Regions from separate parts of the Homo sapiens genome. Here all the other regions are linked to region 1. Evidence: promoter capture Hi-C in 16 types of primary human blood cells and fetal thymus (Javierre and others, 2016). All regions are on one chromosome and are shown on one strand. Each heading gives the region's core, a stretch centred on a gene start or on the middle of the fragment in contact. The rest is flanking DNA. Distances are from core to core; before and after follow the strand shown. Region 1 holds the start of CPA2 (carboxypeptidase A2). Region 2 overlaps COPG2 (coat protein complex I subunit gamma 2). Region 3 has its middle 13 kb from the start of MESTIT1.

Region 1 (4,239 bases), core at 1,022-3,521:
AACAGTAGGGGAGATAATCAAAACAAATTCTTACAGTGGAACTTCACCCAGTGTCACAATGGATGGGGAGATGTTGTGGGGGCAACCATGGAGGTGGCTACCTATCCCTCCTTTAACACGGGCTGGAACTTCCTTTCCCCACCTTCTCCTTCTATATCCAGTCATGCACCAATTACTCACCACAGGCTTGTGTTTCTTCCACTGAAATCTCTCTTCAAGGCCATCTCAGACATTTCCTCTGCCATCCACAAGTCCAGATGTAGCATCCTAAATCTCGGTTTCCCCAAGAGGCTCATATTTGGCTCCCTGCTTAGAGGATCTCTGCCAGGCACCATCCTGCAAGGTTCACCATTTTCAGCATTGCCCTCATCAATCAGTTACCTGCTTAGAAACCTTCCAAGGCTCTCCATATCATCTGGTGTGTACTCCTCTGTTTGGATTGTGAGATCCTTTGCCCTCTAGCCCACCTTCTGGTATTTTACCTTCCCCACCACTCCCAGGTTCAAGTCTCTGCTCTGCTAGGCTAAGTTTCCTCCTTAACCCAGCTGTGTATCATGTGCTCTCCCCTGGTTCCCTGTCTAGCTTATATTTTCTTACCACCAGAAATCCAGGCTCTTTTCACATTTGCCTTGGCACAAAGGCTCAGCTCAAACTCCATTTTTTTTTTTTTTTTTTTGAGACGGAGTCTCACTCTGTTGCCTAGGCTGGAGCGCAGTGGTGCCATCTGGGCTCACTGCAAGCTCTGCCTCCCGGGTTCACACCATTCTCCTGCCTCAGCCTCCTGAGTAGCTGGGACTACAGGCTCCCGCCACCACACCCGGCTAACTTTTTGTATTTTTAGTAGAGACGGAGTTTCACCATGCTAGCCAGGATGGTCTCGATCTCCTGACCTCGTGATCCACCTGCCTTGGCCTCCCAAAGTGCTGGGATTACAGGCGTGAGCCACTGAGCCCAGCCTGAAACTTGATTTTTTCCAGGAAGCTTTTATTGATTCTCCAAGTACATACTTCCAGTTTATTGAACTACTGTTTATTTGATAGGTGCTGGAGACATGAGGATGAATTATGGCCTCTGCCTTTTGGTTTCTGTCTTCTCTCTGACTCCCAGGAGAATGAAAAACCAAGTTAATCCAGTCATTCTTAAAATCAGAAACACTGTGTATATACCTTTCCCCTTAAAGCAGATATTTGAGAATGCAAACCCAGAGATTTAAAGTGTGTGCTGATAAATTTGACACACAAAGGACAGACGAAAATTTCCTTGCTGCTTGTTGTGGTTGAGGCTTTCTAGGCTTAATATAACGTGTATGAACAACTAAAATTAAATAAACTATGGTTTCTAAAAATAAGCAGTTATATTTTCTTCTTAAGCAATGAAGAACAAAGTCAGATTAATGTAGATCTATGTTTATGAACAAGAAAAGATCACCTTTGTTTAAAGAACAGTATACGTGATATGGTCTAATCTTTGTTTAAGAAAAAAACTCGAAAGCAGAGAAAGAAATTTGGAAAGACATATGCCAAATGGTTTTCTTTGGATGGAAGAATTATTGATGGTTAAAGAAAACACTTTCTTTTAATTCACACTTTTTATAACAAGCAACTTCATTGTTGCTTGTTATAGGAAATGTCATCAGAAAGACATTTTCATTTTGGGAAAAAGCACAGAAAGAGGGATATCAATTTGGTGCAAATGCAGATGGATCACTTTCGAGAAAGTGCAAAATTGAATATTAAAAGGCCTTCTGTTTTGTTTTAATGTAGAGTGAGGATTGGAATGGGCCACATCTACAGGGACACTCAGCAGATGTGGACTGAGTGACTGCAGTGTTTCAAGGTAAACATTATAAAAATAAACAAATGAGCAAACTAATGGAATGTGATAGACAGGATGCCTGAGTAATTACTATAAATGCTCTGGCCTTTTTTTTGTGTGTGTGTCAGAGACCCAGAAAAGACTTTAACCTCTAGGTCTATTAATCTGGCTTCTATCACAGGGTAGCTAGTGGCGTTTTATGGTCTCAATCATAACTATATTGCCCTTGGTATGCTCTAGCAATTTTGTTCTCTTTCCATCAAAGTTTGTTATCTTATCCTAGGAATGGAACATGTACACATTGGTGATATCACACAGGTGGATGTCTACAACCTTGAGAATTTCACATGCAGGTGGGAATTTTCCCATGTGGGAATTCACGTGAGTTCTCAGAAGGCCAGCAGATCACCCTCAGCTGCCATCCCTACAAATAAAGTTCAGGAAGGACTCTGAATTCTGGACTCCAGGAAAACCCATGGCCATGAGGTTGATCCTGTTTTTTGGTGCCCTTTTTGGGCATATCTACTGTCTAGAAACATTTGTGGGGTAAGTTATGCTTTCTGGTGCTTCTTTGAATTTTACTTACCTGATTGATGGAGGCTTTGATTGTTACAGAGTAAATGGGTATAAGTGTTCAGTGTTTTCAGAGAAGTTCTCTTAGATTTGGGGATAAGTCAATAGTGTGAAAAAAAGGAGTGGATGATCAAAAAGGAGGTGAATGACATTTAAAGGAAAAGACAAAAGTGAAAACTGAACACACATAACCCTATTTCTCTCTGTCCTTACTCATTTTTCCCTCCAGTGATCAGACTGTAGGGATGATAGACATCAGGGAAAATACAGCTGTGTGGCCATTTGTTCCAGGCAACTCAGCGGGTGTCAATGCTACTCTCCCACCTCCTCCTGCTCTTCTGGGCTTTACCATCCACGTTAGCCCTTGTGCCCTAACCCCCGATCTTTAGATTCAGCACCTAGGTGGTGGAACCTCATGAAGTAGAAAGGCCAGGGCTATAGATTTCAGCTCAACTCCTCCTCTCCTGGCTTTGGAGGACTCATCTTTGCTCCAAAGTACTTTGCTTCATGATTCTATGAAGGGTTTCAGGCAGCATTTTTTGAAGAGTGGTCCAGGGAGCTAAGAAAGCAATCAAATAAGTTTGGTCCCAAAAAGCCACTGGTCAAATAAATGTGGGAATCAGAGGATTAAACAAACTATAGGATTTCTAGGAGCCTTGGCTAAATCAGTGTGCATTATAAATCTATAAGAGGGGATCTAGGTTGCAGCATGTACTCTTTTTTTTAATCATAAACTACCTACTGCTCCCAGCTTGCCCTTTCTTTCTTTCTCTTTCTCTTTCTTTCTTTCTTTCTCTTTCTTTCTTTCTTTCTTTCTTTCTTTCTTTCTTTCTTTCTTTCTTTCTTTCTTTCTTTCACTGAGTAACTCAAAGAACTACTATTCTTTAGAACACACACCAGGAAATATGACCCTGTTGTATTACTTTTCTCAGTGCCTTCCCATTTTAAAGGAGGACTCCTGGGAGTCCATGCATTAACCGAAAATAATGAGACTTAAATGGAAGAATTTTCAGACCATTTGTGGCAGGTGAGCCTCGAAGAGCTCACATTCCATCACTTCTGTATTCCACTGGAGTTCGTAGGAAATTGCATGGAGCTTGGTTTCAGAAGACCCATATTCTGGTCCCTGTACATGGCTCATTGTATTGATTCCTTCCCCACTGCACAAACAGTTGGGGCAGTGACTTAGGAAGTCTGCCTACGTGGAGAAAGGCTAGAAGGGGAAACTCTGTCACCAAGGGAACTCTTCCTAAAGAGATGTGCTTGATTGTTTTGAGATTTCTCTTTCCTGTTCATCCTTCATTCCCTATTAAGGGGGTGTGTGTGTGTGTGTGTGTGTGTGTGTGTGTGTGTGTGTTTGTAAAGAGAGGCACGGCACATAATTTGTCAGGGTCCCAACTATCTCTGGCCATGCCCCATGTTTGGGCCCCATGAATGGGGTCTGGGGATGGAACCTTGATACATTTTCAGTTGACAAAATCAAAGAACAAACAAAACCCCCAAAACCATTAAAAACAAAATCTTAGGACTACCCACATATGAATTGTTTCCTCTTACAAGCACCAAATTATTCCACTTTTTAAAAACTTACTTCTGAACAACAGGAACAGGCAAGTATTAAAAGCTATAACACTCCACAAGCAGCAGGTTTTATTTGACTCATTAGCTATGGGAAAGGTAACTTTAATGGCAGGCTTCCTGCTAGGAGCAGGTACACCTATTCATTATTATTTAGATAACATTTCCTGGGAGGAAATAACGCCATTCTATCACCTTCTCATTCTGGCGATGTGGGTTTAGTATACTATTTATTAGTTTCTGGATTGTCACAGAGATTATTGACTGTTGCAT
Region 2 (4,239 bases), core at 599-3,098, 240 kb after region 1:
CTCCTAGAAAAATGTTCTCTCAAGGCAGAAGTCACTTAGTGTTGTGAAGGTGTCAAAGAAAGTCTCTATGCTGGGAAGACTCACCACATACTCATCATCATACCCATCCTCATCTGGAACTCCAGTGTTAGGGTCACAGTCCCGGACTGTAAACTTCATGGTGCAGCTAAAGGAGCCTGCAACTGGAGGAGAAGGGAGGCAAACCTGCATCAGTGGGGAGTGCAAGGGAGACGTTTCCATCATTCCATCTGTACTCAGCACTGTGTTCCACATTTTCCAGTTAAACACACATGCCCTGTTGTCTGGGGTAGTGGTTCTCAAAAGCAGCCTACAAGCGGGTCAGGAAGGCAGTCTCACAAAGCATGAATGTAAAGTCTATTCCACGCTGTGGGTTACAGCAGTACAGAAATGATAACATGGGCAGACTGTTTCTCTATTGGTATGAAGAAAGCAGCAGAGAGGTACTTTTGGGGGCTTTTTGCCATGCCTATCAAAGGGGCCTAAATGTTGAAAAATAAATATTTTGAGAACCACTGCTGTAGGACCTGACCAAAAAAAAAAACAAAAAAAAAACCTGTGGTAAAAAGCATACAGATCATCAGATTAACATTGACCAATCTCATCAGCATCTCAATACTATCTTTAGATTGTGGACTGATGGCGGGTCCACAGATCACCAGAGAGAACTTGCTTTATCTGTCAACCTTCAGCCTAAAGTGAGTAGGTCAGTAATGAGTTTCTAGTATTGGTAAAGTCAGTGTCTTAAATGGAAAAGCAAGTGGGCAGTTGTATGTTTTCACACAAGTGGTGTTAAGTAATAAGAAATGGAGGTGGGGGTACATTTTTGGAAAGTGAAGTCTTTATAAAAAGTAAAGACAGTATTTTCTGAAATGTTTGAAGGAGGGGATTTAGCAAGCAGGGATGAAGAAAAGGCATTTAGGATCTTGTCTATGGTCTGGAAAAAGCTTATAGGTACAAAAAATATTAGATATTGGGAGAGTTAAAAAGTTATTTGGGGGATAGGCAAGGAGAGGAAAGAACAGGCTCAGATGTGAAGACCATATACGACAGATTGGGTAATAAGACTTTCATCTGCTCAGTCTTGACTTTAAATTCCATCCATTCATCCATCCACACATGTAGTGACTGTCAATACATGTTGACATTACACGTAAAGGTATAAGCTTATGTGCCAGACACTTGGATAAAAAGATGACTGAGACATGATCTCTGTCTCTAGGAGCTGTCTAGGAGTTAAATAAGTGTGTGGGCTGTGTGTGTGTGTGATCTATCTATGACTTTACAACTCAATGCCATAGATCCTTTAAGTTTTAAGAGAGTGCCATGTGAGGGTGCGGGATTAACAAATAGCCTGGGAAAACTGTAAAAAATGTGAAACGATATAATAGTTTAACTGGCTCTCAAAAGATGCAAAAGAGCTTTGGCAAGCAGAGGAAGATGTACAAACAGGCAAAAGGAAAGAGGCCAGAAAGTCCACCGGGCAGCTGGAAACAGTAAGAGGCATGCTAATGCCTAGGTGCTGAGAAGATAATTTGTTTAGGAATAAATTGTAAAATACCTTGTATTTCAAATGATTTTCCAACAGGCTCTGGTGAGCTGAGGCAGTCAAGAGATTGAAAGGTTAGAGATAAGCTAGATAAGGTGCCTAATTTAAGCCACTGGTGGGGACTATGAAGAATGGGTCTGAATTCAGAGAGCAGATGGATTCAACAGAATATGCTGAAAACAGACGATGGCAGTGGGTTTTCCCATATAGGAAAGAATGAACCTATCAAGCCTGCAGAATCAATTTCAATGCCATTAGGGGTTGAGAAAAGAACGACTGTGGTTTAATTAGGATAGGATTTTCTTCAGAGAGAAGGGGAAAGAAGTGAAAGTTAACACAAGGCCAGAACAGGTCAGGTGAGGCATTTTTTTTAAACCATGAAAGAGATACAGAATATGGTAGGGGAAAAGGTCATGATCAAGTTAGAATGAAGAGTCAGGAGAGACATTAATTATAGCAACCCAGTGTGGTTCCAATTAAGCAGAGAGGCTACAGCAAATGAGGAGGACAAAGAGACAACATCAGGTATGAAGGCAGATCACAGACTGGGCACAGGGGCTGAGTTTTATGTGGAGGTAAAGACAGAAGACACTTACATATAAGGACCTGATACAGAGAAAGAGATTAAGGAAGTAAATAGGAATGGTGTTAGTAGAGATAATGTTCCTGAAACCTTAGTGGGAATTTTTTTACTTAAATGGTTTGATTGATACAATGAGAGGTTACAGGGATCTAAGGAAGTCTAGGCAGTAATCTGTCGAAGCTGCTGGAGAGGATGACGAAATGGGGCGAGGAGGCAAGATGCGGGGGCCTTTCCATGGCAAGAAAATACTGAATGCACTGCCATAATGTAAATATGAGAGTTACACAGACAAAGCAAGGCAAATACCAAAGAGAATCAGGAAAGAATGCCCTGAAGATCTGCATTAAAACTGTTCTCTGAAATTAAGCTTGTCTTGTGAGGATTCACTGAAAATGAGAGTCAACCACTAAGGAGATTTGTATGAAAAGAACCCAGCGAATTAGAGAAAAGATAGATGCTGGCAGCTAAGACAGGAGAGGGACATGTGAGTTGGGCCAGGGTACAGAAAATGCAGTGTGGCAAAGGGCAGAGTGGGAAAGGTGGGAGGGAGCTGCCAGGTCTCAACCACCTGGGGGAGACCATGACAAAGTAAGAGACACTTATGAGGTATTTCCAGAAAGCTTTGTTAGAATAATAATTAAAGAAAAGGGTATGTCACTAGGGCAAAAGATTAGAAAGAAGGCAAAAGAGATGGATCTGTACAGGCTAACTGCAGCAGTCTATGCAGGTCTGGACTGAACTGAGAAGCAATGGGTGCAGCATAGTGTGTAGGACATCGAGGAAAGCTGGGCAGTGAGTGCCAAAATAAGCAATACACACCTACCTGGAAAATCGTGTTGAGTCTGTGGGAATGCTGTACAAATGGTGGGAGGGAGTTTTTCTCTAGGACAAATTCAGAAAGGGAAGGAGGAATGGTACTGGAAAGCAACATTAGAGTTGTCCTCAGATGAAAAGGAGTTGGTCACTAAGGAATGACACACATCAACAGGAAGGTAAGACAGCATTGCTGGGCCAAAAGTCATAAGAGAGTATGAAATAAGAGACTGGAAGCAAAGGAAAGAAAATATTACATAAGGAAGGGCCTACTGGCAGAGCAGGTGTGGAATAAAGATTTAGAATGGGGTATCCTGTCTAGGTCTAAATGGTCGGCTGCATGGGAAATACACAGAAAGGGTTAAGGAGCAAGGAATTCAGTAGGAGGCAGCAGCAGACTAGCTCTTAAAGCTTTTGAGGGAATGGCTAATTAAAGGACTTGCTTGATAGGAAAGTTATAAACTGATGAATGCTGATAAAAAGCTATAGATGGGCCGGGTGCAGTGGCTCACGCCTGTAATCCCAGCACTTTGGGAGGCTGAGGCAGGTGGATCACCTGAGGTTGGGAGTTCAAGACTAGCCTGGCCAACATGGTGAAACACTGTGTCTTCTAAAAAAAAAAAAAAAAAAAAAAAAATACAAAATTAGCCGGGCGTGGTGGCCCATGCTTGTAATCCCAGCTACTTGGGAGGCTGAGGTAGGAGAATCACTTGAACCCAGGAGGCAGAGGTTGTGGTAAGCCGAGTTGGTGAGCCTTGTTAACTCTCCTTGTTAATACACAACTCTCCTTGTTAATATACAACTCTGACAATTTAACATGAGCCAAGCCCCATTGCACTCCAGCCTGGGCAACAAGAGCAAAACTCCATCTAAAAAAAAAAAACAAAAAACAACAAAAAAGCTATAGATGGCAACTTTAGAAATATTAGGCTTGATTTATTAAGAGAGTGTGAACATGTAGTTTGTCCAGAGAATGGATTATTGCTACTAGATGGGGAATGGGTGATTATGAAGAGTGAAGTAAAAAAGTCTATATCTATTTCTGTAGAGATGGTAAGGCCGGGTGCAGTGGCTCACACTTGTAATTCCAGCATTTTGGGAGGCTGAGGCTGGCAGATCACTTGAGGTCAGGAGTTTGAGACCAGCCTGGCCAAGATGGTGAAACCCCGTCTCTACTAAAAATTTTTGTAAAAATACAAAAATTAGCTGGGCGTAGTGGCACATGCCTGTAATCCTGGAGGTTTCAGTGAGCCAAAATCACGCCACTGCACTCTAA
Region 3 (4,239 bases), core at 448-2,947, 210 kb after region 1:
ATATGGGTGCATTTTGCACTAATAGCTCCAGACTTCCCCCTCTTGCATCTGCCACCTCAGATTATTGTCAGAGGCGCTAAGGAGGATGCTCTGTGAAATAATATTTACTCTTATTTCTCTATCAATGGCTGTCTGAAGGAGCATTTCAATAGTACCCTCTTGGGTAGAGGCAAGGAAACAGGCAAGTGTGTCCCGGTTTCTGCTCCTAACAAATTTCCCTTCTCTCTTCTGTTAAAGTCCTTAAGTGCCTGATCACCCATTTTAACCACCAAATATTAACTAAAATAGCCTCCTCATTCCTGTCTTCATTTATTAGAGCAGTTAAATCTGTATTCGTCCTTTTAAGTACGTTGCTTTTATGTAGTCTCGTCTGGGTTCTAAGATTTCAACCATCCTAAGTCGTGCCTTTCTTTCCCTCTTTCTCCCTGAAGCCCTTGTAATTTTCCTATTTGCCATTTCCAAGCTAAGACCTGTCTCCAGGGCAACGGTCCCCTGCTCACTAGTGAGTCCTCAGCCCCTGCCCCCTCAGCAAAGACCCTTCGACTTTTTATGTGCAAATTGGATTTTCAGAACCTAATGCTCCGGGTGTAGGCTGATTGTATTTTTTTTTCCTTTTTCTTTTTCTTCTTTGCCTTTGGCATTGTAATTATTTAATTTTTTCAACTGCTTCAGTCGAAGAAGCTATATTGCCAATTTAATTCTCCCACTTCACTCCACCTGCCTCATTTTCTGTGCTTTAAAAGCCTCTATGATAATCAAGACTTATTGATTAAAATTTCCAGAGGGCCCCAAACAGGAGAGACAGACACGGGAGTATCTTTGGACCTCTTGTGGTCAGGCTGCAGGTTTCGTGCTGATGGCCAGAAGCTGTTCGTTCAGCCCATCTTTGAATAGAGTCATCCTGGGGTAATTTTCCTGTCATCCTAGAATGCATGAGAGGAGCACCCCGCCTGTTCTTCAGTGGTTCCTGGTCCCTCGGATGATGTAGTCTGTGAGGAAGTTTTTTTCTGGCCAGTAATGAAAGGAAAAAAAATAAGGCCAGGTGCCAGTGAATGAACTTTTTCTGGGGAAGGGTAGTCATTTCTATTTTGTCCTTCTCGCTTTTGTGGTATTAAAATGTCTTTTTATTTTTATGGCCCTTTCTTGAGCTCTTGTGTTTTATTATACCTGTGAACTCGAAACCTGTGGGTTTTATCTCTCTCTTCCACCAATTCTGAAACTAAAAGCTGGTTCACTAGAGCTGGTTTTAAGATGAACTTCCCCTGACCCCAGAAATGAATCTGCCTCTCCAAGAACACTAGATTCCTACTCCTACCAAGAGATGCTAGTCCAGACCTCAAGCCAGGGCAGGATCCCATACTTTGCACATGAGATGTTCCCCAGGAACGCAGCTGCTCTTAAGGTTTGTGTGAGCAGCTTCCAAACCTCAGTCCCTCATTCATAGGCTTACATCGGTTCTGCCAACCCCACCAGGTGTTAGCCTTGTCCTCAGAATCCCAAACCTTTTCATTCTGAATACTTGCCTGGTTTCCTCTTCTGGCAAAGTGTCTGGACACTGTAAAAATCTCAAGAACATCCCTGATCCCAGCCCTTACTTTTTAAGGAGGCATTTTTTCAAATTTTTTCCAACAAAGTATTCCTAAGAGCGAAGACTGAAAACATGCAAAGGAGAAAAATGAAAGCAGTCTGAAGGGATCACTGCAAGCAAGAAATGTGTATTTTGTGTTAAAAATGCATTCAGTGTTTGCATTCTACTTTATAATAGATTCCTTTTGTATTGATATTAAAATGTTTAAAATTACTTACCATCAGGCAAAATGAGTCTGCCACTTCAGAAATGCGATGTCTCCATCCAGGAGCTCAAATACTCATGGTGCACAAAGTGACCCCACAAGAGTTTCAGCCAACCCCATGGCCCAGAATGGTTCCATCCTGCAGCTTGACTTGGCTCAGAAATCCTTTACTCATCTTTAGCCAACTTCCTATGCCATTTCTTTTTAAGGGACTTTACCAATCCCCTCCAAGCCCAATCTTACCTCCACCTCATTCTACAGGTTATGTTCTGTTTTGGCAAGGAAGGAGTGGCATCTTTGTAGCTCTTCTTAGCTCTTGGGTCGCATCTTCTTAGCTCTTCTTCAGTCCATCTCAGAGGACACTGATATGTGGACCAAGGAATGCATCTCTCTTCCTTTATGTTATGCTCTGTTAAAAGAGCACCAAAGCATGTTGCCTTGGGCTCAGTTATTCTAAAGATTAAAAAATATATATTTTTGTCCTGATTCCCAAAGTAGTGCATCATAATAGTCATCAGCTGTGTTTGCTTGTCAGTGCCTTTATTCTATCAGGGCCTCTTTTTTTTCTCTTTTTTCTTTTCTCTTTTTAGGAACCACTATTCAGTGTGGGGCTGATACCACCCTGTTGCTACTCAGCTCCAAGCATGGTTCCTGTGACCCAGGCCTGGTCATTAGAGTCCCAGTGTTCAGGGAAGGGTATATGTCCAAGCAAGTCCATTTAGAGTCAGTCCAGAATTATCTGGGTATGGTGGTATGAGCCTATAGTCCCACCTACTCATTTGCATTTTCACATAAACTTTAGAATCGGCTTGTTATTTTCTACAAAAAAAGCCTGCCCAAATTTTCATTGTGATTATGTTGAATCTACGGGTCAATTTTGAAAGAATTGACATTTTAACAGTATTGAGCTTTCCAATCCATGAACATGGTATAACTCTTCACTTATTTAGATCTTCCTTGATTTTTCTCAGTAATGTTCTCAGTGTACAGATCTTGTAACATTTTATTTAATTTTTCTATAAGTATTCCATATTTTTTGATGTTATTGTAAGTGGTATTGTTTAAAATACAATTTCTAATTATTCATTGTTAGTAAATAGAGATACAATTGATTTTGTATATTAACCTCATGTTCTACAATCTTGCCAAACTTACTTATTGGTTCTGGTGGGTTTTTTGTAAGTTCCTTAGGATTTTCAACATATGCAATCTTGTCGTATGTAAGTAGGAGGAGTTTTACTTCTTCCTTTCCAGTGTGTATGCCTTTTATTTCTTTGTCTTGCACTATTCCATTGGCTAGGGCCTCCAGTACAATGCTGAATAGAATTGTGAAGATTCTATTCAGATTCAATTCTTGCCATGTTCTCTGTATTAGGGGAGAATGTATCAAGAATAATGTTAGTTGTAGGTTTTTAATACATGTCCTTTATCAGATTGAGGAAGATTTCTTCTATTTTCAGTTTGCTAAGAGTTTAAAATTTTTTTTAAATTTTTATAAATAAAGGGGGTAAAGTGCAGTGTTCTTACGTGAATATATTGTGTAGGGGGGAAGTCTGGGCTTTTTGTATACCCATTACCTGAGAGTTTTGATCAAGAATGGAGTTTGAATTTTGCCAAATGCTTTCCTGAATCTATTGAGATTGCTTTTTCTTTTTCAGTCTGTTAATATGGTGAGCTATATTAATTGATTTTTGAATGTTAAAACAATTTCAAGATCCCTGGGATGAACACCATTTGTTTATACTAGGTCATCCATTTATATATTGCTACATTCAACTTGCCATAAATTTGCTGAGAATTCCTGCATCTGTGTTCATGACGATACTAGCGTGTAGTTTTTTTCTTTTTGTAATGCCTTTGTCTGCTTTTGGCAAGTGAATAATGCTGGCCTCGTAAGTTGGGAAATGTCCTGCTTCTTCTATTTCTAGAAGATTTTATGAAAAATTGGGATCATTTTTTCCTGAAATGTTTGGAAGAGCTACCAAGTAAAGTCATCTAGGCTTAGAGATTTTTTTTTTCTTTTCTTTTCTTTTTTTAAACAGGGTCTCACTCTGTCACCCAGACTGGAGTGCAGTGGTGCCATCACAGCTTACTGCAGGCTTGACTTCCCAGGCTCAGGCAATCCTCCCACCTCAGCTACCCAAGTAGCTGGAACTACAGGCATGTGCCACCATGCCTGGCTACTTTTTTTTGTTTTGTTTATTTTTTGTAGAGACGAGCTCTTGCCATGTTGCCCAGGCTGGTCTCAAACTCCTGGACCCAAGTGATCCACCCACCTTGGCTTCCCAAAGTGCTGGGATTATAGGCATGGGCCACCATGCCCACCCATGTAAGTCTGTTGTTTAATTTTCAAATATTTGAGGACTTCCATGTATTTTTCTGTTACTGATTTATAATTTAATCCTACTGTGGTTAGAGAACATATGTCATATGAATTCAAAATTTG

What was found. The method cuts DNA at HindIII sites, captures the fragments that hold promoters and counts their contacts. A CHiCAGO score of 5 or more calls a contact.
Region 2: a contact is called between a fragment that was not itself captured here and the fragment with the promoter of CPA2 in region 1, in 5 of 17 cell types (megakaryocytes, M0 macrophages, naive CD4 T cells and 2 more). The highest score is 7.7, in megakaryocytes.
Region 3: a contact is called between a fragment that was not itself captured here and the fragment with the promoter of CPA2 in region 1, in 1 of 17 cell types (megakaryocytes). The highest score is 5.1, in megakaryocytes.

What each region holds. Positions count from the first base shown.
Region 1 is chr7:130,264,592-130,268,830 of GRCh38, forward strand. It overlaps CPA2 (carboxypeptidase A2), which reads left to right and starts at 2,272. Exons shown (of 11, transcript NM_001869.3): 1 at 2,272-2,361. The coding sequence starts at 2,291. The HindIII fragment of the contact is 5,023 bases long and covers 980-4,239 here.
Region 2 is chr7:130,508,478-130,512,716 of GRCh38, forward strand. It overlaps COPG2 (coat protein complex I subunit gamma 2), which reads right to left. Exons shown (of 24, transcript NM_012133.6): 21 at 85-182. Among named protein-coding and RNA genes, the nearest start is that of MIR335, 14 kb to the left of the region's middle. The HindIII fragment of the contact is 1,333 bases long and covers 1,183-2,515 here.
Region 3 is chr7:130,475,529-130,479,767 of GRCh38, forward strand. No RefSeq gene overlaps it. Among named protein-coding and RNA genes, the nearest start is that of MESTIT1, 13 kb to the right of the region's middle. The HindIII fragment of the contact is 5,266 bases long and covers 1-4,239 here.